6 separate regions of the Homo sapiens genome follow, and regions 1, 2, 3, 4 and 5 are each linked to region 6. Evidence: promoter capture Hi-C in 16 types of primary human blood cells and fetal thymus (Javierre and others, 2016). All regions are on one chromosome and are shown on one strand. Each heading gives the region's core, a stretch centred on a gene start or on the middle of the fragment in contact. The rest is flanking DNA. Distances are from core to core; before and after follow the strand shown.

What was found. The method cuts DNA at HindIII sites, captures the fragments that hold promoters and counts their contacts. A CHiCAGO score of 5 or more calls a contact.
Region 1: a contact is called between a fragment that was not itself captured here and the fragment with the promoter of PTS in region 6, in 1 of 17 cell types (non-activated CD4 T cells). The highest score is 5.8, in non-activated CD4 T cells.
Region 2: a contact is called between the fragment with the promoter of ZW10 here and the fragment with the promoter of PTS in region 6, in 4 of 17 cell types (total CD4 T cells, naive CD8 T cells, fetal thymus and 1 more). The highest score is 8.4, in total CD4 T cells.
Region 3: a contact is called between a fragment that was not itself captured here and the fragment with the promoter of PTS in region 6, in 4 of 17 cell types (non-activated CD4 T cells, total B cells, naive CD8 T cells and 1 more). The highest score is 13.6, in non-activated CD4 T cells.
Region 4: a contact is called between a fragment that was not itself captured here and the fragment with the promoter of PTS in region 6, in 9 of 17 cell types (total B cells, total CD4 T cells, naive B cells and 6 more). The highest score is 11.7, in total B cells.
Region 5: a fragment that was not itself captured here is called in contact with the fragment with the promoter of PTS in region 6 in 6 of 17 cell types (total CD4 T cells, activated CD4 T cells, non-activated CD4 T cells and 3 more); the score reaches 9.8 in total CD4 T cells.

Annotation. Positions count from the first base shown.
Region 1 is chr11:113,260,783-113,265,523 of GRCh38, reverse strand. All of the region lies in intron 17 of NCAM1 (neural cell adhesion molecule 1), which reads right to left. Among named protein-coding and RNA genes, the nearest start is that of NCAM1-AS1, 11 kb to the left of the region's middle. The HindIII fragment of the contact is 896 bases long and covers 1,321-2,216 here.
Region 2 is chr11:113,771,582-113,775,801 of GRCh38, reverse strand. ZW10 (zw10 kinetochore protein) reads left to right here and starts at 2,110. Exons shown (of 16, transcript NM_004724.4): 1 at 2,110-2,240. The coding sequence starts at 2,136. RefSeq lists enhancers at 1,920-1,979, 2,110-2,379. The HindIII fragment of the contact is 9,750 bases long and covers 1,478-4,220 here.
Region 3 is chr11:113,277,793-113,282,234 of GRCh38, reverse strand. It overlaps TTC12-DT (TTC12 divergent transcript), which reads left to right. Exons shown (of 5, transcript NR_199709.1): 2 at 1-198; 3 at 1,603-1,744; 4 at 2,586-2,745; 5 at 3,492-3,798. NCAM1 (neural cell adhesion molecule 1) reads right to left here. Exons shown (of 20, transcript NM_181351.5): 20 at 3,799-4,442. Among named protein-coding and RNA genes, the nearest start is that of NCAM1-AS1, 6.1 kb to the right of the region's middle. The HindIII fragment of the contact is 4,658 bases long and covers 1-4,284 here.
Region 4 is chr11:113,293,579-113,298,129 of GRCh38, reverse strand. The region is part of intron 1 of TTC12-DT (TTC12 divergent transcript); the gene reads left to right. Among named protein-coding and RNA genes, the nearest start is that of TTC12-DT, 19 kb to the left of the region's middle. The HindIII fragment of the contact is 584 bases long and covers 1,404-1,987 here.
Region 5 is chr11:113,797,504-113,801,988 of GRCh38, reverse strand. It overlaps USP28 (ubiquitin specific peptidase 28), which reads left to right. Exons shown (of 26, transcript NM_001346252.4): 25 at 311-506; 26 at 2,574-4,114. The coding sequence ends at 2,749. Among named protein-coding and RNA genes, the nearest start is that of CLDN25, 20 kb to the right of the region's middle. The HindIII fragment of the contact is 2,228 bases long and covers 2,095-4,322 here.
Region 6 is chr11:112,223,164-112,227,830 of GRCh38, reverse strand. It overlaps PTS (6-pyruvoyltetrahydropterin synthase), which reads right to left and starts at 1,403. Exons shown (of 6, transcript NM_000317.3): 1 at 1,305-1,403. The coding sequence starts at 1,387. RefSeq lists silencers at 471-765, 1,123-1,532. The HindIII fragment of the contact is 9,611 bases long and covers 1-4,667 here.

The DNA.
Region 1 (4,741 bases), core at 519-3,018, 1.0 Mb before region 6:
TGTCATCAGGTGACCTTGCCACAGAGTTGTGCATCTGTTGGCTCAGAGTGTGGCCCCATCCCCATAGTGACCACCTCCCCAGTTCTGCAAAGGCATTTTCCCCTCCCACTGCCTGCTGGGGACTCCAAGGCAGCAATGCCTCTTAACAGCTCTTAGGATGCCTGGGAAAAAGAGATTGCTCCCCGTTAGGAAGAAAAAGTATTTCATTCACCAGGCTACTATTTCTCTAGGTAATAGTCTATCCAGGTACATGAGAGGCGGAGGGAAAGGGTCTTTGCTGCTTTGTCAGACACAACTATTGAATAAAATCAAGCCACGCTGGTGAGTTCACATGAACTGTTATTTCCTTTAATAATGCAAAGGTGTAAACTTCATAAAGCCCTCACTGATTATCTACACAACAATGTTAGCATTCTTATTAGTAGAAAAACATGATCCAAACCTGCTGTATAAATAGTCCAAAAATGAGCAAAGGGGCCCCATGGTGTGTGGAGCATGGGCAGCACAACTACAGGGCACAGGGGAGTGGGGTGTGGCTGAGCAAGGTGGGGTGCACTCACTCCTGCAGGGTCTCTGAGGGCTGCTGTCTCCAGGACTCCTGGCGGGGCTGGGGCTGCAGCTGTCACCAGGAACTCAGTGTCCGTGGGGAGTGGGTATGCGCTAGTGCTGCCTCCTGAGGAGCGCACTGTTACAAGCCGTGGGTCTGTCTAAATGGGACCCTTGAGGACCCTGACATTGTTTCAGCTGAGGCCTGCCTGACCCTGGGATGTGTTGAGATGACAGGGCCACGTCAGTCCTCTCCACACTTAGGACGAGATCTCCAAAGGGTCCCTTCAGAAAGATGGACACTGCCCCTCTCCTGTGGGTGGTCCTGGGATCAGGGGGAGGCAGACTCCCAAGCTGGGCCCTCCTAGGATGAAGCCGTGTGACTTCTGCCCAAGGTGATCCTAAGAGCCAGTAGCTCTCCCACACTGACCTGGGATCCTTATGCTCTGCCCTGTGCCCAAAAACCATGCCTGCCTCCACTGCCCTGGTGTGAAGCGCCATCTGGGACTCCAGCGGGGAGAGTTTTGTGGCTGGGTTGAGAGGCACTACCCTGCCTGAGCTACTGTGCAGCATGGAGCCTCTGATGTCTGCACGTGAGCCTCTAAACTGAGCGCTGGGGATTAATGGCGAGCGCCAACATAGGTGGCTTTGCCCCTCAGACCACAGCATGGGATCATTTGGAATCCCAAAGGGAAAGGCTAGTCTTTGAACATTAAAAAATAATAACAACAGAAAAAAATACATAAAGAAACCAAAAAGAACAAAAATCAAGCTTCCATGGAGATGCTCAGAGATGAGATATGTAGAATGATATGTGACCACAATGGGGGGAGGGAGGGAGTTTTTATTCAGTAGAAGGTCCATCCCCAAGCACACACACTGATATTACCAAGCAGGATTCAGCCCTGAGTCTCCACAAGGGACCTTAACAAAACACACCCATTTCCTCTCCTGGGTGAACTCCCAAGCAGCAGGGAGGAGCAGCTGGATTTTCAGGAGAGTTTAGAAAATGTCACTGAACCAACGCACCAATACAGAGGCTGGGGCATTCAGGAAGCACTGACAGGTTGGCTCGGCCCCAATTTATTAACCCTCCTGGGCTGGGCAGTCTGGGAGTGGCCTGTCCCTCTCCTTCTCTACTGAGCACACACAGGCCAGGTAGGGGACTAATGCCTGGTTCACAGTGGATGCTTCCAACCTGTCCTGTAGACTGATGCTCAAAGCCATTCTGTGGGTCACTGCTGAACCACGGCCCCACTCTGTGCTGATCTGCGACATGCTGCCAGGCAGCAGGGGAGTCACCCCGATTGGGAGACAAACACCTTTCAAAGCTGACACTTGTTGGCACATCATGGCTTGGCCCCGTTCACAGAGACAGTGTAAGGTGCTGGCCGTAATACGAGGACTGAAAGCACATCCCAGAACGTTCATCAGCCCCAGAAAATATCCAACAAATTCAACTTTTTTTCCAGTGCATGGGCAACAGGGGTGACTTCAGTTGCCCATCATGTCAGCAAAACGCTCATGTGAATCAGTGCGGTCTGGCTCTTTTAACATGGGCACTTAAATGCTTAATTGCAAGCAAAGCCAATTATTATTGAAGGGAGGACAAGGAGCACAGAGTTAGAATGAGGGGAATGTGTGGTGATTTTAACAATCTGACACAAGCTTTAGAAGGTACTTAGAATTCTTCCTCTGCTACATCATATTTAGGTTTGAACCCAAAATGCAACAAGTAGCAGATATGCAGAAACTTCTCTGTAAATCTAGCATGATGGTTTTTAAAAATAGCATTTAAAGAAAGAGCTCTCAAATTCTTTTTACTGCCATTAAAAAGGGGGCAAACTCCTTATGAAGTGGCACAAAAGTATCTGTGAGTGGTGACATGTCTGGAGGTAAAGCTTTTTCCAATCACAAAACCTTCTCTTCCACACAGAATGGTTGCTCAGCAGCTGTGGCCATGGTGGTCCTGCCAGGTTCTTCCAAAGGGGGCACTGATCTTTTTCATAGGAACTGGGCTTTTAAGCAAATTTAATTTTTGTGTTCAAGTTCCTAACAGAGCAAAAGAAGAGTCACTGCAGAGAAAAGCAATGAGACAAAGGTGTAGGATGCAGAATTGCCTCCCAAGGTTGCTGCAGGTGTCAAGCAATGGGTCCCCAGAGATAATGTGGTTGTTTAAAAACAAATGTGGCAGTGGGGATGTCCCAGTGACGTCCAAGGTGACAAGTGTGACGACAGACACAGGAAGGGGAGGGGGACAGAAGGAAAGGGAAGGTAGAGACAGAAACAGAGAAAAAAATAGATAAAAAGAAAAAAAATTAGGTCAACTATAGAAAACACAGAATCAAAGGTTAATTCAACTTAGTAAATTAAATTGACAAAGGTTAGAGAGGGTTCAGTGCAGTATCAATACCATAAGGCCAGTTCAGAAGCTCAGCAATGCCAGAAGCAGCACAGCAGGGTTAATTTGGGGGCTAGGGATCAGCGAGCAAATGAAATTAAAGTGAGAGAACAGAAGCCTCCACGCTAAAATACAAGAGTTTGATTAGGAGAGTGTTACCTTTCACTAAGGTGAAGCCTCTTAGATACAGCCAGCAAGTGTATTGTCTTCTAGTGTCTAGCGTGTTTTACCCATAGTGGTGGAGATGCATTGGATCGCTGCACTATGAGTCAGCACACTGTGCTTAGGGATTGGGGATGGCCTTGTCAGAGATGAAGCAGGCTTTTCTTCCTATGGCACAAGTCCCACACCACAGTGCTGTTAAAGGAAGTCTCATTCTGTACCCCGCTTCACCTTCTACCCTGCTTGCTGACCACAGAATTCAACCACAAATGTCCAACTTGTAATTCAGAGAGGTTTTATTCTCGGATCCCAATTCAATGGCCAGGAAAGTCTAACCGAGAACACAGCCACCACCTTCTCAGATCTGTGCAGGAGAGCCACAGAGCCGTCACCGGTGAGGTGAGCAATCCCCCAGCCCTCTCTGGCTTAAGTGGGCACCTGGGCGATTCACAAGAAGGATTCTGATATCTCCAGCAGGCACAACTCTGGAGGACAAGGTCTACCCAGAATTTCGGTCTCTGACACAAAAACCACAGAAGCCAGTGCTGCTAGGAGTACCCAGCATGTGAACACAGCAGGTCCAAACAGCCTACCCAGTGAGTCTCACCCCAGGGAGCAATTGCCATAAGGAATCTGTCTTGCTGCAAAGGGCTTACTCAAGCCTCACCTGATCTCACCTCCTAAGTGTCCCATGAAGGCCAGACAGATCTGGACATTCACTCCAAGCTGTCGATTGTAAAGGAATGGACCAAAGAATGGAGAGAAAGAAGGGGCAGAGGAAAAGCAAGGAGAACCTCCATTTGAACATCCTGTTAAGGTATAATGAGGACATTTCCTGCAGCCTTGCCCACGTGCCTTGCCTTCTGCACCGACCATCTGACCAGCGACTGTGGAGAAACACCCACCCCAGCAAGCACTGGGGAGCCTTCCTGTCAATGCAGGGTGGACCAATTGATGCTTCTGACCTACAGTGTAAAACTCACCTGCCAACTCACTGGAGGTCCAGCACACGTCTCCCAGACACACACATCCATGTACAAACAACCACTGGGAACCACACACTGATCCCGTTTTGTTGCTGCTCTCCTAGCCCATTTTTGCACATACATCCCTGCATCATAGGCAGGCCACAGCCCTCTGGCCTGTCTCCTCCTGGGAGGAGGAATCATGACCACCGAGCCAAGAGCCGGGCAAGCACTGAAGACAGGGCAGGCATGAGGGGGGCTGCCCAAGGCCGTCTTCCCACCACACTTGAACATGGCAGGGTCTATGGGGCCCCCCAACAGGCTGCAGCTGTATGTTCTATGCCCACCTCTCCTGCCTGGGGTTGGCATTTGGCTGGTCTGGAAAAGCAGAGTGATCAGTTGAAGAGCTCCTTCTTCTCTGAGGGATTTGGCCAAAAAGGAGACCAGCAAGGTTAGGTCTTGGATCCCTGGAGACAGATCTGTATCTCCTAGGAGAACTGCTGCCATCACAGTCTCTAGCAGACCGGATTGCTTTCATTGATGGTGCTTTCCAGCATCTATTTTCTCCACTTGTTCTATTACAAGTGGTTCAATTTAATCTGTTTCCATTGAGAGGCCTTTGGTAGATAGGGTTTGTAAGTAAATGGGCATCATCTCTTCCTTCTCT
Region 2 (4,220 bases), core at 861-3,360, 1.5 Mb before region 6:
AATTAAAACAGAGGGAACTTCGTTATCATGAAGACTGAAACTGGCAGGTTTGGGAATTTGGTGATTATCTCTCATTCTCCTGATTTCTCAGAAGGTCAGACAGACAGCTTAGTTTTGGTTTGGCGAAGTAGAGCTTTAGCATGAGTGACTCCATTTTGGTTTGGTCTGTTGGGCTTAGTGCAGGAACTCAGTCCAAAGTGATGGCCTCCTGTAAATGTTAACATTGTGAAACCTTTCTAATTCAGTCAGAGACTGGGTGCTCTTCCTCCAATATTTCCTCTGCCATTTGCATCTTCCTCAGGGGCAGATTAAACTTCACAGCTCATTACTTGCACAAGCCCCTTCTAAGGCTGACATCTAATTTTGTATTCATTATTTTATATTCTTTTCTTTAAAGAGTCCTTCCCCTCCCTGCAACTGTATAAGATTTAAGTTCCACTAAATCTAGATCCATCCCTCATCTACCTACAAATTAGTAATTATCATATTTTTCTGTGATTATATATTCACATGTTGTGGGTCCCCAGACCTAGCACAATGTCTGCTATGTGATAATTGCTTAATAAATATGCAGTACAAAGTTTCAGAATTTTCATCTATCAGTCATTCTTTGTCATTGGGCATTTATTATTAGTTGCAGTTAGAATTCAAAGTTGACAGGTCTACCAAAAAGAAATTGATTTGGTTTTCCAAGGAAGGGAGTTTCTCAGGATGTTTTGGCTGTTTTCAGTGCTTCCTCTCTCAATCCCAGTTTTGTTTCCTTTGCTCATGGCATGTGAATTGGCCCTTGCTTCACTGGGATAAGCAGATTGTCTCAAAGACACTTAACAATTGTCAGGGATCTTAGAGTCAGTGCCTACTTGGGGTCAACCCTCACAATATATCTTTTTAAAAAACCAAAAACCTTTTAATCAAAACAGTACATCTGGCTCTTGGTATCCACGGATCCAACCAACCACAGATCAAAAATATTCTGGAAAAAACTAATAAAAAATAACAATACAACAACAAAAAATAATGCAAATCAAAATACAATATAACGACTCTATAGCATTTAGATTGATTTGTATTAGGTCTTATAAGTAATCAAGAGATGATTTAAAGTGTATGGGGAGGATGTGTGCTGGTTACTTGTAAACATTACATCATTTTATGTAAGAGACTTGAGCATCCACGGATTTTGCTACTGGGGCAGGGGAGGTTTCTGGAACCAATCCCCCCATACCAAGGGAGGACTGTGTATGTTTACTGCAGAAAAATAGAGAAAGCAAGGGCAGAGAAGAGAATAAATACCATAAATCCACCACCCATAGGATAATTTGATGTCTGTCCTTTACATACATACTTACATACTTTTTGTTTTCTGACCAATGGTTATACACTTAAGTTTTTAAAAAGGAATCATAGTATACATAGAATATTGTGAACATCTTTCTGTATGCAATGCATTAAAATAATGAAACCATTTTTAAAAGCTTTTGACACATTTATATATTTATAATATGACAGAAAGTACTAAGTATCTTGTTCACACAGGACTAATATTATGTATATCTAAGTAATATAAATATGTAATGTAGGTAATGTAAATGTGTAATGTATCACGTAGATGTAATATATGTACATAGATGCAATTATAAGCAACCTTTTATTTATAATGAGGTGACGCCACTTCTTTACACAACTCTAGAGGGCGCCATTCGTAGATTCTGGTGCCACAGCGGCCCAATAAAAGTTGAGGAAAAAAGATCGAGATGGGCTCGTTGGCTCTTTCAGTTAGATAATTTTACAAGTAAGCCTTTTGAAGTTTAGAAAGGTTCAGTTAGACCTGGTTATTAAAAACGTTTAATTTCCTCCAGTGAAAAACGGGCGGGAAGCAACGAACTTTGAAAACAACTAAGGAAGAAAACGCGTCTGCTTACAGTTTGCCAACTACGGGACACCGTGGAAATCCCATCTCGGGATTGGCGCGGTGCCTGCTGGGAGTTGTAGTGCGCCCCTCGCCTTCCGGGCGGCGGTCTGAGGCCCGCGAGACTCCGTTTCCCGGCAGGCCTCGCGTCAAGACGGCCGGCGGGACGGGAGCTGCGGCGCTGGCTACGAGAGTGACCCAGTCAGCGTTGGTTCCCGTCTTGGCCATGGCCTCGTTCGTGACAGAAGTTTTGGCACACTCCGGGAGGCTGGAAAAGGAGGATCTGGGGACCCGGATCAGCCGCCTGACCCGGCGGGTGGAGGAGATCAAGGTGAGAGCGGGGCAGCTGTCTGCTGACTGGAAGGGGACTCCGGGTCCTTGTGTGAAGGGACTGGAGAGAGGAGTCAGGGGCTAAGGGCAGACAGAGTGGGGACCAGCAGAGTGGGGCCTGTTGGGGAGATCTAGTTGTGGGGGCTGAATGAGGAGTGGAGGGGCCCAGAATGTGTGGATTGAGGAGGGATCTTGGAGGGGAGCCCACACAGGGGTTGGGAACTGAGGAGGCGAGGAGACCTGGGACTGTGGGGACGAACAGGCGGTGGCTGGAGAGCACTGGAGAGTGGAGTTATGTTGGGGAGGGGTGTGCCGCGGGAAGAGGGAGACTGAAGAGACCAGCAGAGCGGGAGGAGCAACTGGAAGCTCCGAGGAAGCTAGGGAGCGAGCGCAGGAGAGGAATAGAAAAGACAGGATCCCCCTTCCCCTTCTTCCATCGATGAGTGTTTATTTCCTCCACCCACTCCTTGATTTGTTGATGAATAAAATAGCCTGGAGGATTGCACCTTTCTCCTCCCCGACATTAAAAAAAAAACAAACCCAAACCCTCAGTATGTTTTTATTTTTATGTATCTATCTATCTTTTGAGATGGAGTCTTGCTCTGTCGCCCAGGCTGGAGTGATCTCGGCTCACCGCGACCTCTGCCTCCCGGGTTCAAGCGATTCTCCTGCCTCAGCCTCCCGAGTAGCTGAGATTACAGGCGCGTGCCACCACGCCTGGCTAATTTTTTTTTTTTTTTTTTTGTATTTTTAGTACAGACGGAGTTTCACCATGTTGGCCAGACTGGTCTCGAACTCTTGACCTCAGGTGATCCACCCGCCTCGGCCTCCCAAAGTGCTGGGATTACAGGTGTAAGCCACCGTCTCCGGCCTCTTAATGTGGTTTTAAAACTTCATCTACAAGCACATGAAGCTGTGCTGAGTGTCATTGGTACCTACGTAAACGTTGCTGCCTTGAGATTGATACAAAAACTGGAAGCACGTAGCCACACACAGTTTTGCTTTGTACTGATATTGTTACCTTGCCAGTATTTGTCCACATCTTCAGTTGCTTTCATTTAAAATTTTGTGTATCTGAGTCAAGTAGGGTTTCGAGGGAGCAAGTTTGCCACACACCATAAGGGCACAGGTATAACCCTTCCTAACAGCTCTTGATTTTACAAAAGTAGTTTCCTGAATTTTAAGTAGTCATATCCCTGACATCTCTTCTTTAATATGGCTTTCGGATTTTTCACCACTGTTTAATGTGATGGAAAGAGGACAGGTTTTTAAGTTACTCTAGCATGGCAAGCGACCCTAGCTCCTGCGTGTTCTGGACCCAACATGCCTTTCTTTGCTTTCACTAGTTTCCTTTACCAACTTGAATCTTCAGCCAATTGAGAATTACTTTCTCTGCTCTCCCTCCCTTTTTTAATCCCATATTTTGCTTATGTTGCCATTTTTCCATCTTTACCTGTAGTATTTTTCAAACCCATTTTTCAAGTTCCATTTCAAATGTCTCCTGCATAAAAAAAAATCTTTATCTTCCCTCAGGGAGAGGGGATCTCTTTCTCATTTGTGCTCCTGGAAGGCTTTGTAACTTTGTTGCTGTATTACATTTCAGTCCTGTATTCTTGTTGCTCAAGTATATAGTATCTTTACTACGTAGGAATTTGAGGGCAAGCATAATTTGTTCTTTTTTTTAATTCATGTATTTATTCCTCTGTCAAAATAATAATTTAACAAAATTAGCCAGGCGTGGTGGTGTGCGCCTGTAATCCCCAGCTACTCTGGAGGCTGAGGCAGGAGGATCGTTTGAACCTGGGAGGTTGAGGTTGCAGTGAGCCGAGATTGTGCCACTGCGTTCCAGCCCGAGGGACGGAGTGAGACTCCATCTCAAAAAGAAAAACAAAATCAATTTAAAGCCATCACATTTTTAAAAGATAAAGGAGAATTTGTGGCACAGCTGCATTAACAAAACAAGACACCAGTCTAAAGTGCA
Region 3 (4,442 bases), core at 706-3,205, 1.1 Mb before region 6:
GAAACACCCAGGGCAACAAGGATCCCAGGAAATCTTTTTCTAGCTACAAGACAAATTTATTTTCTAGACTCCAGAGTATACCCATGCCTTCCAGGCAACAGGACAGGTAGACACAAGTTCTCTTAAGGGATTGGGAAGAGGAGGCCACCCTGGAAAGGAGATACCAAGTCACTGCCTCTCCTGACCTTGTCCTCCAAGGTGAGGCTGCAAATGGTGTAGTAGGAATTTCTGACAATTCTCCTTGAGACGGAGCTGCCTGTGCATTTTCCTTCCCAGGTCCCCTGCTTAGTTCTTTTCTCTCTTTAATATATATACTTGGAGATATCACATGGTGATCACCAAGTCCCAGAGTTTGAAGTACAAGCACTATGTGGACAGCTCCTACGTGAATCTCCAGTCTGGACCTCTCAAACTTTAGCCTACGCAAAATCTCTGCTCAGGTGTTCACAGGCATCCCAGACTTCAAGTATCCTGAGACTAATGTTCCATCGTCCAAATAATCTGCTTCTCCTGCACTCCTTTTCCAAAGTAAATGGCAACTCCATCCTTTCAAATGTGTAGATTCAAAATCTGAAAGTCATCAGTGATTCCTCTCTCAAACCACACATCCAATCTATTATCCAATCTTGCTGGCTTTACCTTTAGTACATGTCCAGAGCTGGCCACTGCTCAGCCTTCCACCAGCCGCAGCTTGCTGCAAGCACATCATCCTGTCCCCTCTGGATCATCGCCTCCTCACTGGTATCCTTACATTTGCTCTTGCCCTCCTGTGATCTGTTATCCACCCAGCAGCCAGAGTGCTCATTTTAATACTCAAGTCATGTCAGGCTTCTGGCAAAAACATCCCTTGGCTTTCCATCCCACTTGAAGAAAAGGCAAAATTCTAACAACAGTCTACAGATCCTGTGCAATCTAGCTCATAGATACTTCTGAGTCATTTCCTATCTCTTTACTCTCTGCCCCACCCCATCATTTGCTTTCTGTTCCAGCCACACTGGCCTCTTGCTCTTCTTCAAAGATGCTAGCCAAGTCCCTACCTCAGGACCTTTGCACATGTTGTTCTCTCTGCCTGAAATATCTTCCTTCAGATATTTGCACAGTTCAGTTCCTTACTTCTTTCAGGTCACTGCTCAAATGTCACCTTTTCAGAGAGTACTACTCTGACTGCCCTGTATAAAATAATACTCCATAACCCCTTTACCTAGATGCATTGTTCCGCTCTGCACTTACCATTCCCTGAGTTAGCCATGATAGGCTACATAATGGTAAGGTTACAAATCCCAAATTTAAATGGTTTGTAATATAAAGGGTTTTCCAGTGATATGCTAGAACCAGCTTGTACTGGCTCCAGAGAGCCAATTGCTAACTTTTCAGGAAATTTGTGAGCCAGGTGTTATGCAAACATATATAATTTATAAAAAGTTAAATTACATAAAGTTATAATTAACTAAATTATATTAAAACCAAAGGCAATAAATACTCAAAATGCATCCCTTCTTAATTATATTACTACTTATTTTACTACTGTTATTAATATGTTAAAAATTTTATTATTACTACATACTACTATTACCTATGCACTTGATGTTATTTCTCTTGTAGCTGCCTGGTGGAAATACAGTATTATATAATGACATGCTACTATGCATCTCTACCTAACTCCTCGTCTGGTGATGCCATATTGAAATCAGCCATACTGAGAGTATTTACACACTGCTGAAGTCAGTAAATGCTACAAATCAAGGTTTGATTTATTTTTTTTAGTGCTTGTCTAGATTTATGAAAGTAATGGGGAAATATTTTATGATGCAGATTAAACTTACAAGTGTGCCATGTCTGCAGCTGTTACACTGTGAACGAATGGCACAAAAAATTGAGGCAGTATTTCTCTAGTATTCAAAAACTTATCCCCAATTCAACAAAGAAGTCACTCACACCATAGATGGATGAGTGAAGTTCTAACATATGTCTTTATTGTTTTATCTTATTTGTTAACATAAATGAACATATCAGCCAACATGCAGGTTGGAATTACAGTCCTTTGTAAATGGGAACCATAAACTGATTATGGATACAATACTTCAGCAAAAAATGAACCAAAGCATTCTGTGGGTATCAGTTGGATAGATGCAATTTCAATGTAGAATACTGTGTATTTTATTATTTGTCAATGGCATCCTTTATAAGTGAAACACATACATGTGTGCACACACACATGTTGCCCTTCTCCTTTGGAGAGTTGGCCATTAAACATTTACTAACAACTATTGGCTCATCCCTCTCACACACTCCATGTCCATCATGGAGCACCTGTTCACATCCCTTACTCTGAGCCCAGGTGATGGCACTTCCACCACCTGAAGCATTGCTGATTGCTGCAGGGGGTGTGGGGGAAAGGGGCATGACAAAGGCTCTGCCTGGAGGTGACACATGCTACTTCTGTTCATATTCCATTTACTGAAGCAAGTCATCTGGCCACGCTACCTTTAAATGAGGGGAATCCCACAATGTGTCTGGAAGGAAGGAAGGGAGAACCGCCACAGCACACTGGATGTTTACATGTCTATTGTCTGCCCCACTCCCAGGCTTGAATGTAACCTACATGAGAAAGAGTTGCCTTGCTCACTGCCGTATCCCAGTATCCCAAGAACCTTGGAGATGCTCTATGAATACTGAATGAATCTGAGAGGAAACTAGCCCGAAGGGGGAAGGCTCTGGAAGCAAGCCCTCATGGACCAACGGAGAGTGAGTGTCATCATTTTATGTTTTCTCCAAATCTTGTAAACAATGTGTTTTAGTCTTAGCCTGTCATATGCAGCTGAAATCTGGGGCAAATAAAATCACATAGATGCATGTGGCTCTGTGTTATTATTACAGGCAAGCGAGGTAAAATTGAAGGATGCAAACTTGAAGGGCGTATCACTCTCAGATTCATGTAAGTGCAGGGTCAGCCCCGAGAGTGGGCACCTCCTTACATTTTGTGCCCTGGGATTCTCCCTTGCTTTACCTTAGCCTTGATTCTACAGCAGGTCTCTTCCAGGAACTCCCAATTCCACAGCCTAATGGACATCTCCAACTCTAGCAGCTGCTTCTTTCAGACACAGCCAGAGAGCAGCATATACAAGAGAATGCTTAGCTGAGGCAAAGTTTTATTCACTCTGTCTAGCTTAGAGACATAATAAACTCCAGGGGCTGAATGACGGCTCTAAATGCTGAGAGATAGGCCAAAGCAGTAAGAAGGAGGCATTACTTATTTTAGAATAAGCGCCATGTCATTACCTTATTGCTGAAATCTTGAAGCTCAGGTGTTGACTATTACTACGATTAGGTCTGATGGTATCGCACACCCAGGATGCCAACAGCGCCAACTCCCGCTGATTGAGTTCCCACTGTGTGCCAAGAAAGAAGACACTAGGCCTTCATGTACATTGTTTCATTCATCAACCAGCACCCTAACTAACTCTCTTTTCTTGGTATTTCCTGTATGTCAGAAAAGGAAACTGAATCTTGGGGAGATTAAGCAACTCTTTCAAGGTCAACCGGGGAGCGGCAGAACCAGAGTTCGAAGGAAACCTTTCTGAATCTGACGTCTGCCCCTTCTAAATTAGGACTCTCATCTATCAGCCTGTGAGAAAAAATACAGAAAGCATCATTCAGGCAACACATGAACTCAAGACACTGAGACTTCGCTAACCTTCCTCGCACACAAGGTCCTAAAGGAACTACCACACGCATGTCCACATTTGATGCACATAACAGACTCTCACCGCATTGAAATAAACCCCAGTATGATCATAATAGCTTTTTTCTTTCAATTTTTATTGAACACAAGTATTCCGACAGAATGCAAAGTCAAAATTCTCAGTTAGTACTCAGTATTTACACCAGTGAGAATGGAAACAAAGGTGGTATCGATGTTTCACTTGGTAAAAAGTTTTATAACAAGAGAGAAGGCCCCCGAAGTACAGAATGCTGGGTAGGGATGTTAATGGAGGTCTGAAAACCGCCATCCAGACAGACAGCCTCAAGTGAAAACCTGGGACTCGGAAGGCTCCATAGAAAAGTGTGAAAATAGAGTTCCACCTCCAAAGCTGCACTATATACACCACAGCCCTGCAGGGTCCAGTGGCCCTGCTCGTCACACTTGAGTGCTCCTCCAGCAGAACTTGGCCATGCCGGTCTTCATGTGAATACATATGTATGGCACATACACACATAGACACATAGACATTGGAAACTGGAGTTGATCCCTCCTTCAAAAATTAAAAAAGAAAATTATAAGCTTTGATCTCTTAACATAAAAGATAAAACATCTTGGAATAAAATGACTCCCTCTTTGATTTTAGAGAAAGCATTGCTTTTTTTTTTTTTTTTTTTTTTTTTTTAAAGGAAAAACTCTTGCATGCTGAGACAAACCTATGTGTAATGGGAGAGAACAGACC
Region 4 (4,551 bases), core at 446-2,945, 1.1 Mb before region 6:
TTGTCTTTGTCTGATTGAGTTAATTCAAAAGCCTTGTCTTCAAGCTCTGAAGTTCTTTATTCTACTTGTTCTAGTCTATTGTTGACACTTTCCAGTGCCTTTTGTATTTCTCTAAGTGTGTCTTTTATTTCCAGAAGTTGTGATTGTGTTTTCTTTATGATATCTATTTCTCTGGAGAATTTCTCATCCATATCCTGCATTACAAAAAAAATTTCTTTAAGTTGTTTTTCACCTTTCTCTGGCATCTCCTGGAGTAGCTTAACAATCAACCTTCTGAATTCTTTTTCTGGCAATTCAGAGAATTCTTCTTGATTTGGATCCATTGCTGGAAAGCTATTGTGGTCTTTTTGGGGTGTTATAGAACCTTGTTTTGTCATATTTCCAGAATGACTTTTCTGATTCCTTCTCATTCGGATAGACTATTTCAGTGGAAAAATCTGGAACTCAAGGGCTGTTGTTCAGATTGTTTTGTCCCATGGGGTGATGCCTTGATGTGGCGTGCTCCCCCTTTCGCTAGGGGTGGGGCTTCCTGGGAGATGGACTGCAGCAATTGTTATTACTCTTCTTGGTCCAGCCACCCAGCAGGGCTACCAGGCTCTGGGCTGGTGCTGGGGAATGTCTGCAAAGAGCCCTGCAATGTGATCCATCTTCAGGTCTCCCAGCTGGGGATACCAGGACCTGCTCTGGTGGAGGTGGTAGGGGAGTGAAATAGACTCTGTGAGAGTCCGTGGTTGTAGATGTGTTTAGTGTGTTGGCTTTCTCAAATGCTGCTGACGCTAGCAGTGAAGTTGCCACAGGGACAAACTCAGGACCACTGGTTAGTCAGCATGTTGCAGGCAGTGGAATTAGCTGTTGTTTTCTCTTTCCTTGGAGCTGGGTTATTCTGTCATGAGTTGCTGTGATGTCCTGAGTTGGTTGACCTCCAGCCAGGAGGTGGTGCTTTTAAGAGAGCACCAGCTGAGATAGTAGAAGGGGGATATAAGCTTGCCCTACCTTAGCCAGGGTAAGTATTTGGGTTTCTCAGGTGATGGGCAGGGCCATAAAGCTTCCAAGAGTTTATGTCTTTTGTGATTGGCTACCGGGGTGGTAGAGAAATACCAACAGGTGGGGGCAGGGTTAGGCCTATCTGAGCTCAGACTCTCCTTGTGCAGGGCTTGCCCAGGCTACTGTGAGAAATGGTGGTGGAGTGGTTCTTAGGTCAATGGGGTTATGTTCCAGAAGGGATTATGGCTGCCTCTGTCACTAGGGAAGTGGGGGAAAGCCAGTAGGGATAGGGCTCACCCAGCTCCCAGGCAGTTGCCTGGTGAGGCCGGTCTCTCTCCTGCTGTACTCCACTAGTAGCACTGAGTTTATCTTCAGGCAGCCTGCAGGCAGAACCCAGATCTTGCCCCAGGCTATAAGCTTCCCTGCTGAGAAAACCAGCAAGACTTTGAAGCCACACCCCTCCCCATCTGCCCACACTGTCATTCACCCCTGGATTCTGCTCAAGAGAGTTTGTGCACAGTTGAAATTATTACAAAGTTCAGTTGGAAACTTCTTTCACCCTGTGACCCCTCCCAAATTCTGCTGGCTGCCTTCCCCAAGGGCTCCTATGAGATATAGTCAGGGATGGCCTCCCTGGGATTGAGCTGGAGAGGAAGAGTGCCTGCAAGCCTCTTCCTGTTGCTGCTTCTACTTTTATATTTCGCACTAAGTCCATTTCAGCTCTAGGTAAGGTTAAATCCTTCTGTAATCTGGATTTTCAGGTTCCCCAGTGAGGATGTGTGTTCGGAGGCCAGTTTTCCCCCTCTCACACTTTGGGAACTCACCGTTTTTTGCCTGTCTCACAGAATTTGCAGTGGCAATGCCGCTTCTTTCAAAAGATCTGTGAATATTTTTGCTTCACTTTCTAGTTTCACTGTTAATATAGGCAACAACCCACTGTGGTATTAGCATCAGCTGTGATGTCACTTATGCTGAGCAACACTTTGAAATCACAGTCGAAGCTTCCAACTGAAGCATCTTACACATGCTACCAGACCTTGTGTTTTGAAGAACTGATAAATAAGCACATGTATTACTGATGCGGTGTCATTGTCTGGGGTAAATACTCGGGGTTCGTCATCTCATGCCAAGAAAAGTTAGGACACAGGCACACACAAGGAGTTTAGGAGCAGAGGTTTCATAGGCAAAAGGAAGAGAAAGGAGAACAGCTCTCTCTCTCTCTAGTGAGAGAGAGGGGCTTCCAAAAGGAAGGACGAGCTGGCGGTGGAGTTTTCTGGATTTTATAGGCAGACTTGAGGAAGTGGTGTCTGATTTATGTAGAGCCCACAGATTGGTTCGATCAGGTGTGACGTTTACATAGTATGTGGGGAAGGCTGGCCACCCCACTCTAATCTTATTATGCAAATGGGCTTTTCACTTGACCAGAAAGCCCTTACTGTACACTTGGCTGTTAAAGAGAAGGGAAGATGGAGCCGCCATTTTGAACATGTCTAGTCTCAGGTAGCTTTTTCCTGCTGGCATTCACTGGTGCAAGCCTCTAGCTTGTTTGTCTATGTCTGCATCTGGATTTTACAGGCTGCTCTTTGTTAGAAAATGATTTGGGGGCTGCTTTTCATTAAAAAGGAAAATCTTACTGAGAACTCCTGTACCTTCACTATCTGCCTTAGTAATTTCTTCTTAATTCCTATGCCACAAATTTTTTTAAAAAATAGTTTAATAATCGTATATCAATGCAACTGTTTTCCTTTATAATCCCATGTATTTCATTTCAAAAAATCAATACATTAAAATTTAAAATATTCTGAGACTAGGTCCATAGGCTTCACTTGACTACCTGGATTATAGCAAAAATAAATATCCCCAACAGAAGAATTCCAGGTAATAATTGTAGGTACTCCCATTTCTAAGGGGTGGAGCTCAGTTCCTTTCCCCTTGAGTGTTCATTGGATTTAGTGATTCACTTCTAAAGAACAGAGTATGGAAGGGGAAAGTAGTAACCTTTTACGTTGATGTCATAATCCCTGAAGTCATGCAATGAGAAAAGGACCTCACCTCTGACATTCTTCCCCCAGAATCTATAACCCTATTCTAATCGTGAGGGAAATCATTACAAACCCAAATGGAGGGACATTCTGTGAAATACCTGACCAGTACTCTTCAAAAGTGTCAAGGTCATGACAGACAAGGAAAGTACTGCAGTCTGGAGAATATTAAGGAGAAGACTAAGCAGAAACCTAGGCTCCTGAGAACTAGGTACAACGTGGTTCCCTGGATGAGATCCTGGCACAGAAAAAGGACATTGGCAGAGAACTGGTGAAATCTAAATAAAATTTTTAGTTTAGGTAGTATCACTCTACTAATGCTAATTCTTTAGTTGGTAAGACTTCTCTGGCTATATCAGATATAACCAAAGGGGAGTAACATTAGAAGAACCTGGGTTAAGTGTATGCAGGAACTCCTCATACTATCTTTGCAACTCTTCTGTAAATCTAATATTTTTCCACATTAAAAGTTTAAAGAAAATCCCCTACAACTTCTTGTCCTAAACCACTCTCTCCTCCCAACTTCTAGTTCATGAATTCATTTGTTTATCCATTCAACAAATGTACTGAGCAACAACTTAGTGGCATGGGGATGGAGCAGGGGCATGAAGACAATGACAAGACAATGTGAAGACAGTGGCCTCAAGGAGCTTATGGTCTTTCCTGCAAATCTGCAAGACCTGCAGACAGTTATGATGCGATGGCATGAATGCTTCAGTGGAGAATTGTGCAGTGTGTGACACAAGCATAGGAGAAGGAAGAGAAGTAGGACTTTGCCAGGTGAGCAAGGCACTGTGGGCACAGTGACGAGCAGGTGTGCAGGCACACAGGTGAGAGAACACAGTGTCATCAGGAAACTATCAGTAATTCCATCTTATAGGAGTGAGTAATACAAGGGGAAGTTGCACTCAGTGAGGCACAGAGGGAGACAGGGGGGATATTCCAAGGATTGAGATTTTGTCCTGCAGGTGAAGGTAAACAACTGATGTGTTCTAAGCAAGTGAGTCACAGATTTGCACTACAGAAAGATAAGAAACCGGACAAGGTGGAGGCTCTCCGGCTACGGACAGAGGAATGACCCCAGGCTCTGTGCCTTGCCTTCTGCTTTGAGTCCTTCCTCTATTACGTCTCCCTGGACTGGTCCTCACTGCCTGAACACCCCCATCCTTTTTCTCTGCCTCCCTGCCTTAGAGCATCGATGTAGCCTTGGATTGTGCCATTCCTTGTTGAGACAGCTCCACAGACTATACATGTATGTCCTTTACTCACCTCTCACTTGCTGACTTCTTAGTGTTGTGGCTGGTGCTCAGCCACCAGGACTTTGCCTATGGGCAAGGAAGTGCATACAATTGCAAAGCACAGATGGGAGGCGTTGAGAGACCAAGTCAGCAGTTGCCGGGTTGGAGAGGAGGAGATGAATACAAGAGATGTTCAGTAGAGAAAATCAATAGAAAACATTGACAAATTGGAAATGGGGAGAGAGAAAGGAAGGATTCTGATGACAATGCCAGCTATTCAGCTTACA
Region 5 (4,485 bases), core at 1,959-4,458, 1.6 Mb before region 6:
CCAGTGAACAGGTCTTTGGTTGAAACAGGTGTTAAGCATGACCTTGACTTACAAGTTTAGGCCAATGGGTCATAAACTTTACAGCATTAGAATCACTTTGGGAGCTTTCATAAAATCCCAGTGTCCCGGTCATCTAAACACTAATTAAATCAGCTTATCAGAAGTGGGAACCAGGCATCAGTAGTTTTTAAAGATCCCTAAGTACATCCAATGTGCAGTAAAGTTTGGGAACCACTTGTTTAGACTGTTATTAAAGAGATATTTATCTTTTTCAGACTCTTCCCCACCTAATTCTACCTTTTATCTGTAGGAGCTGAATGCCAAAGCAGCTTCTCTTTTTGAAACAAATGATGATCACTCCGTAACTGAGGGCATTAATGTGATGAATGAACTGATCATCCCCTGCATTCACCTTATCATTAATAATGACATTTCCAAGGATGATCTGGATGCCATTGAGGTCATGAGAAACCATTGGTGCTCTTACCTTGGGCAAGATATTGCAGGTATATGCTCTTGGTAATAATATTCTGAGGTTTTGAGAATTGTAGAAATTTCAGTGTTCTCACTTGATAGCACTGGTTGCCAAACCTTTTTAAGGAATTGGAACCTTCTAGCATATAAGTAAATTAAAAATGGATCTGCTCTATTGAAACAAGAGGAGGGAGCCTGGGCCTCTGCCCCTCTTAACCTCCCTTTAGCTTCCCCATGACTGCCAAATCACCTCCATGGGCAACCAACAAGCCTGGTTTGAAAAAAGTCACTGCTCTCCAGGAATGTCAGACTTCCATTACTCTCTCATGTGCCAAAAGATGAACTCTTTTATAGTTTAAAAATCAAAATCTGACTGGGTGCAGTGGCTCACACCTGTAATCCCAGCACTTTCAGAGGCCGAGGTGGGCAGATCACCTGAGGCCAGGAGTTCAAGACCAAGTCTGGCCAACAAGGCGAAACCCCATCTCTACTAAAAATACAAAAATTAGCTAGGTGTGGTCATGGGCGCCTGTAATCCCAGCTACTCGGGAGGCTGAGGCAGGAGAATCACTTGAACCTGGGCAGCGGAGTTTGCAATGAGCCGAGATAGCACCAGTGCAATCCAGCCTGGGCCACGGAATGAGACTCCATATCCAAAAAAAAAAAAAAAAAATCATGCAGAGTATGGTTATGGGAGGGGTGCCTTGATGAATTTTTTCTGTGGCTTGAAGTTATATAGCATATTAACTATGATGACTTCAAGATTAATTAGTGGACTGTCCTTGCTTGTTTAAAGCATCTTAAGGAGGGAATGTAAAGCTGGTTGTTTTTAGGTGAGTTCAGTAGACTTGGAAAATTGTTATATATTCTGATATGAATCCTCTTTGTTAGGTTCTCACTGACATAGAGATACTCTATTGATGGGGCTAGGCACAGTGGCTGACACTTGTAGTCCCAGCACTTTGGGAGGCCAAGGTGGGTGGCTCACTTGAGCCCAGGAGTTTGAGACCAGCCTGGGCAACATAGTGAGACCCTGCCTCTACAAAAAATGAAAACTTAGCTGGGTATAGTGTAGTTCTAGCTACTCAGGAGCCTGAGGTGAGAGGATTGCTTGAGTCTGGGAGGCCGAGGCTACAGTGACCCAAGATCATACCACTGCACTCCAGCTTGGAGTGAGACCCTATCTTTAAAAAACAAACAAAACAAAAAAGGCCGGGCGCAGTGGCTCACGCCTGTAGTCCCAGCGCTTTGGGAGGCTGAGGTGGGCGGATCACGAGGTCAGGAGATGGAGACCATCCTGGCTCACATGGTGAAACCCCGTCTCTACTAAAAATACAAAAAATTAGCCGGGTGTGGTGGCGGGCACCTGTAGTCCCAGCTACTTGGGAGGCTGAGGCAGGAGAATGGCGTGAACCCGGGAGGCGGAGCTTGCAGTGAGCAAAGATGGCGCCACTGCACTCCAGCCTGGGCGACAGAGTGAGACTCCGTCTCAAAAAAAAAAAAAGATATTCCATTGACTTGTTCAAGTGTTTAAGTTGATAGTATTTATTTAAAAATCCTGTAATAGCTAGTTGCCATGTGTTTCCCTTTACTGTCTTCAGTTTTTATTTAGACCAAGCTTGTCCAACCTGAAGCCCAACACAAATTTCTAAACTTTCTTAAAACATTATGAATTTTTTTTTAACCTCATCAGCTATTGTTAGTGAGGTTCATGTGTGGCCCAGGGAAGCCAAAAGACTGTACACCCCTGATTTAAAACCATGTGTATACACTGATATATTGTAAACATTTGAAAGAAAATAATTACCATCATATCTATGCTAGAGTATCATATCTACTTCCTTGTATTTTAAGAAGACAATTGGTTAGAAGACCCTTTCGTAATAAAGTAATTATATAGTTGTTATATAGCAGTGAGCTAAAGTTTGGTTTATTTGCCTTTGCTCCTGGTTTGGCCTGAAGGAATAATCATTTATTAGTAACTGGCCAGCATAATGCTTTGACCTTTGAGGTTAGGTAAGGGGCTAATAGAAGGCTTGTTCACTTTTACTCAGAAATCTGTTTAGCTGTATATGTAACCATCTGTTTTCCCTCCACAGAAAATCTGCAGCTGTGCCTAGGGGAGTTTCTACCCAGACTTCTAGATCCTTCTGCAGAAATCATCGTCTTGAAAGAGCCTCCAACTATTCGACCCAATTCTCCCTATGACCTATGTAGCCGATTTGCAGCTGTCATGGAGTCAATTCAGGGAGTTTCAACTGTGACAGTGAAATAAGCTCCCACATGTTCAAGGCCCATTCTGGTTCCTGGCTGCCTGCCTCTTGCACAGAAGTTCGTTGTCATAGTGCTCACCTTGGGAAAAGGATTAGGTGGGCACATAAGATTCCGATCAGACCCCAACCATGCTGCATGTGTAAAGAAGGATTGAAAATAAAATTGCACTTTTTAGGTACAAAATCATAAAAGCTGTTTCACTAGAAAAGGCAGAAAGCAGTGTATTAAGGTGTTGAATTACGCCAGAAGACCTGAAATGCCTTGTACCTACAACAATGCTTAGGCTTTTCTAAGCCTCTTGCCACTTTTAAAATTATCCTTCAGGCATAAATATTTTTGACAGCAGAATAGAAGAATGATTCATGAGAACCTGAACCAGATGAACAGCTACTAGTTATTTTATCAAATACAGATGACATTTAAAAATTCTTAACTACAAGAGATTAGAAATATAAACCTTGCCTGGCTCTTGCCAGGAGATAACAAAATGGGTTGCTGATGAACTGCACCCTTTTACATGTGGGTAGAATATAAGCTCACATGGCAGTGAGATGTTGAAAAGTCAAAAGAGACCTGTCTCTCTCCTTTCTTTTCTATCTTTAAACCAGAAAACCTCATACTCAGTCCTCAGTGAAAGAAAGTAAAGTATTAAGGACTTTAGACAGAAGAGCATTGTGTAACTTGACTGAAGATCATCCATTAATAGTTATTAGGCATTTAGGTAAAATTTTCTAATACCTAAAAATTGTCAAAAACAGTCAATAGGGCTACTGCTGGCCCAAAGACCATTTAGGTCCACCTCCTCTTTTTTGCTCTTTTTTTTTTTCTGTGACAGTTTCACTGTGTCGCCCAGGCTGGCGTTCAGTGGTGCAATCTCAGCTCACTGCAAACTCTGTCTCCTGGGCTCAAGTGATTCTCGTGCCTCAGCCTCCCGAATAGCTGGAATTACGGGCATGCACCACCACACCTGGCTAATTTTTGTATTTTTAATAGAGATGGGGTTTCACCATATTGGCCAGGCTGATCTCTAACTCCTGGCCTCAAGTGATCTATCTGCCTCCCTCAGCCTCCCAAAGTCTGGGATTGCAGACAAGTCATCGTACCCGGCCTTCTTTTTTGCCCTTAAAAGTAAGGGATGTGGGTTTGTACAAAAAAAAAAAAAAAAAAAAAAAAACCAGCATACATATGCAAAACTATATATATATGTATATGTAGAGAAAAATACTTCCCATTGATCATTTTTAAAAGGCTTCTGATTGGATATTGTGTTTTAACCAAATTTTAAAGATTAATGGAATCATGAAAGGGAAAAAAATTGATACAACTATGCAGATTTTATAAATGTGCAATAAAAGTATTTGTTTTACCTTTGGTGTGCAGTATGGTCTTTATTTAAATATATATTTTCCATTTGGGAAATGGACATACTTGGTATTTGTCTTGTTCCAATTTTTCTTCTTTAAAACCAAAAAGCAGATTAGAGGGTTGATAAACTGGATGGGGACTGACGCGCCAGTGTTTGAAATAAAAGGCAACAGTCAATTATTGAGCAGCACCTAGTGGTAACTGAAGCTTTTTAATCTCATTGGCTATTTGCATTGCATGTAAGCTTATCTACTTTGTCAAATTTTTGAATGCAAAAACAGCAATTTTCTTAGAATGGAGTTTCTTATGTAGTCATTCCTCAGCAGACACCGGCAATTGCTGGGACCCCTGCATATACCAAAATCCATGCAT
Region 6 (4,667 bases), core at 154-2,653:
GTCATGTTGAAATGTGATCCCCAGTGTTGGAGATGGGGCCTAGTGGGAGATGTTTGGCTCATGGAAGTGGATCCCTTATGAATGGCTTGGTGCCCTCCCTGAAGCAATGAGTGAGTTCTCGCTCTATTAGTCAATGGGCGAGCTGGTTGTTAAAAAAAGCCTGGCACCTCCTCTCCTCTCTCTTGCTCCCTCACTTGCCCTGTGAGTTGCCTGCTTGCTCGCCCTTCGCCTTCCACCATGAGTGGAAGGTCCCTGAGGCCTCAACAGAAGCAGATGCTGGTGCCATGCTTCTTGTACAGCCTGCAGAACCAAATAAACCTCTTTTCTTTATAAAATACCAGTCTCAGTATTCCTTTGTGGCAATGCAAAATGGAATAACACACCCCCACTTTCTCCTGCTCAGCCACTTCTTGTATTTAGAGTGCTAAAGTCTTTTGCACAAAATTTTCTCAGTGTACCCTCCACAAAATAGGCCAGATTGGAAACCCCATACAAGATCCCTGATGCATCCGTTACCTAGCACAAGCCCTGACAAGCACGAAACAAAACCTGGTTTAGCGAATGGAGGGATGAATCCTGTTAGATAGCGATGGTCATCCTCATTTCACAGACGACGATACGGAGGGCCAGAGGGTGGAGCTGGTTAGTGCGTGGTAAAATTCCTCAAAATCAACTCGTCAGTGCATGCAAGCAGTATGTATGATCGGGATTCAAATCCCAACTATGCTGCTTCGGAAACTGAACGTCTGGGCTCATTTTTTTTTTTTTTTCTCCTAGCCACTAGACCACCAGGGACTGGGTTCATCCAGTCTTTGGTAAAAAAGGGGCTAAAATTTGCCTTGTAATTACATTAGATATGGTGGCCAATGCTCCTGGCATACAAGATTAGCTAACATTTACTGAGTGTCTACGCCGCGCCAGGTACTGTGTAACATAGGCGAGTTTAACACTGCTGAGTTTCACAGCAACCCTGTGGTCTACACCAAGGGACTCCTAGGGGCAGAGACGTTTCTTCGAGTCGCAGAACCGGGTGTGGGCCCCGCACCCAGACGTGGGCCATCGCCCTCCGCAGTCGGCTCCGTTAACCATCAAGCTCCCCCACCCCTCCAGGGCTGGGGACACTCCAGCCCCCATCAGGATGCTGGAGGCCGTCCGAAGCCCCACGAAGCCGACCAGCGCGCGTCGCCCCAGCAGCCCCCGCGCCCCTCCCGGGCCCGACGTCAGCACGCCCGCCGGCCCCGCCCCGGTGACGTTCCGGGGCCCGGCGCCCACCGCCCGCCGCTGTACCTGTGTGCACACCCTACCTGTACAATCGGTGGCTCGCGCTGAAGGAGATGCGGCGGGACACTTGTGCCTGGCAGCGACGGCCACCACCTTCCGTGCTCATCTTCCCGGCGCTGTCTGCGGTGCTCGGCCGGCACCTCCTCCCGCCGCGCGGCCGGTGCCTCCTCCCACCGCGGCTGCGCAGTGCGTGCCAGACGCGCCCCTAGGAAGTGCGTCTCCGCTTCCGCTCTGGCCAATCCCGGCCTCGGGAGACAGTTAAGGGTGTCTCTCGCTATCTGAATCTCTTCGGAGAGCAAGATTTGGGATACCTAAGCATACCCTGGAGTGGTCAGGGTGGGTGGGGACCCTGTGTCCTTGATCTGTTTGCCCCGCCTGAGGTCACGCCACGTAGTTAGGGCCCGTCTGGGCACACTTTGGGTCCTGAGTGACCTCTCTGAGCCTCCTCTCCCACTCTCTCCTGTAAAGCTCCAGTGACTGGTGACTCAATCGGATGAACCCCAGGGCCACAGTCCGCTTTATAGACCAAAAGGAGCAGGAATTGAGCCAGGCGGGCGTGGTGACGCACTCCTGTAGCCCCAGCTATTGAGAAGGAGAGGGATCACTTCAGCCCAGGAGTCCAACCTGGGCAATAGAGCAAGACCCTCGTTTCTCTTTTTCTTTTTTCTTTTTAATTATTATTATACTTTAAGTTCTAGGGTACATGTGCACAACGTGCAGGTTTGTTACATAGGTATTCATGTGTTATGTTGGTTTGCTGCACCCATCAACTCGTCATTTACATTAGGTATTTCTCCTAATGCTATCCCTCCCCCAGCCCCCTACTCCCTGACAGGCACCGGTGTGTGATGTTCCCCACCCTGTGTCCATGTGTTCTCATTGTTTGATTCCCACCTATGGGTGAGAACATGCAGTGTTTGGTTTTCTGTCCTTGTGATAGTTTGCTGAGAATGATGGTTTCCAGCTTCATCCATGTCCCTGCAAAGGACATGAATTCATCGTTTTTATGGCTGCATAATATTCCATGGTGTACATGTGCCACATTTTCTTAATCCAGTCTATCATTAATGGACATTTGGGTTGGTTCCAAGTCTTTGCAATTGTGAATAGTGCCACAATAAACATACAGGTGCATGTGTCTTTAAAGTAGCATGATTTATAATCCTTTGGGTATATACCCAGTAATGGGATGGCTGGGTCAAATGATATTTCTAGTTCTAGATCCTTGAGGAATCGTCACACTGTCTTCCACAATGGTTGAACTCATTTACACTCCCACCAACAGTGTAAAAGCATTCCTATTTCTCCACATCCTCTCCAACATCTGTTGTTTCCCAACTTTTTAATGATCGCCATTCTAACTGGTGTGAAATGGTATCTCATTGTGGTTTTGATTGGCATTTCTCTGATGGCCAGTGATGATGAGCATTTTTTCATGTGTCTGTTGGCTGCAGAAATGTCTTCTTTTGAGAAGTGTCTGTTCATATGCTTTGCCCACTTTTTGATGGGGTTGTTTGATTTTTTTTCTTATAAATTTGTTTAAGTTCTTTGTAGATTCTGGATATTAGCCCTTTGTCAGATGGGTAGATTGCAAAAATTTTCTCCCATTCTGTAGGTTGCCTGTTCACTCTGATGGTAGATTCTTTTGCCGTACAGAAGCTCTTTAGTTTAATTAGATCCCTTTTGTCTATTTTGGCTTTTGTTGCCATTGCTTTTGGTGTTGTAGTCATGAAGTCCTTGCCCATGCCTATGTCCTGAATGGCATTGCCTAGGCTTTCTTCTAGGGTTTTTATGGTTTTCGGTCTGATATTTAAGTCTTTAATCCATCTTGAGTTAATTTTTGTGTAAGGTGTAAGGAAGGGATCCAGTTTCAGCTTTCTACATATGGCTAGCCAGTTTTCCCAGCACCATTTATTTAATAGGGAATCCTTTCCCCATTTCTTGTTTTTATCAGGTTTGTCTAAGATCAGATGGTTGTAGATGTGTGGTGTTATTTCTGAGGCCTCTGTTGTGTTCCATTGGTGTATATATCTGTTTTGGTACCCATACCATGCTGTTTTTGTTACTGTAGGCTTGTAGTATAGTTCGAAGTCAGGTAGCGTGATGCCTCCAGCTTTGTTCTTTTTGCTTAGGATTAATACCGTTTCTTTAAAAAAAAATTTTTAAAGAGCAAGAATTTGAGAGCACAAATAGGACCACGTGACAACAGTCCTTTGGACTGTTGTGTAATGATCCTTACTAAGGGAAATTCTAAAGCCATTCTTATCCACAAGCATGTATGGACCCATTTATTACTCTGGGTTGGCATAGTGTGAATACAGACACCCCTAAACACATATTAGCAATTCTTCTGCCAGTGTAGACACATTGAGAGTGAAAGGATCTTGTTTCCTCACATCTACTCACAAGAGTAACCAAACTACACACAGTTCCCAGAATCATGTCACCTCTTGCTTCCATTCACTCTTTCACTAAATATTTATTGGGCATCTACTATGTGGCTGGCATTGTTCCAGGTACTGGAGAGGACAGCTCCACTCTATATGAGAAAAATCATCACTGTATATGATGAAAAGCAGGACAAGTCACTGATTAATAACAGGCTTGGAAAAGTTTCCTGTAAAAAGAAAGATAAAATCATGGGGGCGATAGAAATAAGCTCAAATGGTGATTTCCCTCAAATATCTCCTATTTACAGCTATATATTCTGTTTGTTCTGCATTAAACTACTAACAGGTTATTTAGCAAACACTCTCCATACATTTTCAGATGTTTGTCTCATCTACCCCATTGTACTGTAAAGAAAAAACTTCAAATAACATTTAGAGATTTTCGAGATAGAGACTGTTTAGTTCAATACTTTCACTTTACAGATAAGAAAATACAGCCACAGATAAGTGAATTACTATTGCGAGATCACTCAGAACAGAAACATTATTTCCCAGGTATGGACTGCCTCAGTGATAAATACTCTCTAACAGTCAGTGGTTACACAAATAGTTGCTCATTCCAAAACCAGCTTAAAGAATCAAAATAAAGTGAAAGAGTAAGAGAAATTTCTGCAAAATTATTTTTATTAATAATACTTGTTTGTTTTAGTAAAATATTTCACTGCATTTGCAGAGTTGAAGTTTAACCTGTTTGGAAATAGGATTGTTGCACACGTATTGAGATGAGGTGTTTAGGATGGGACCTAATCCAACATGACTAATGTTCTTGTAGAAAGGGGAAACTTGGACTCAAAAACTGACACATACAGAGGGAAGATCATGTGAAGACACAGACAACACCATCTCCAAGCCCAGGAGAGAGAACTGGAACAGATCTTTCTTCAAAGCCCTCAGAAGGAAAAAACCAACTTTGATTTCAGACTTCTAGCTTCCAGA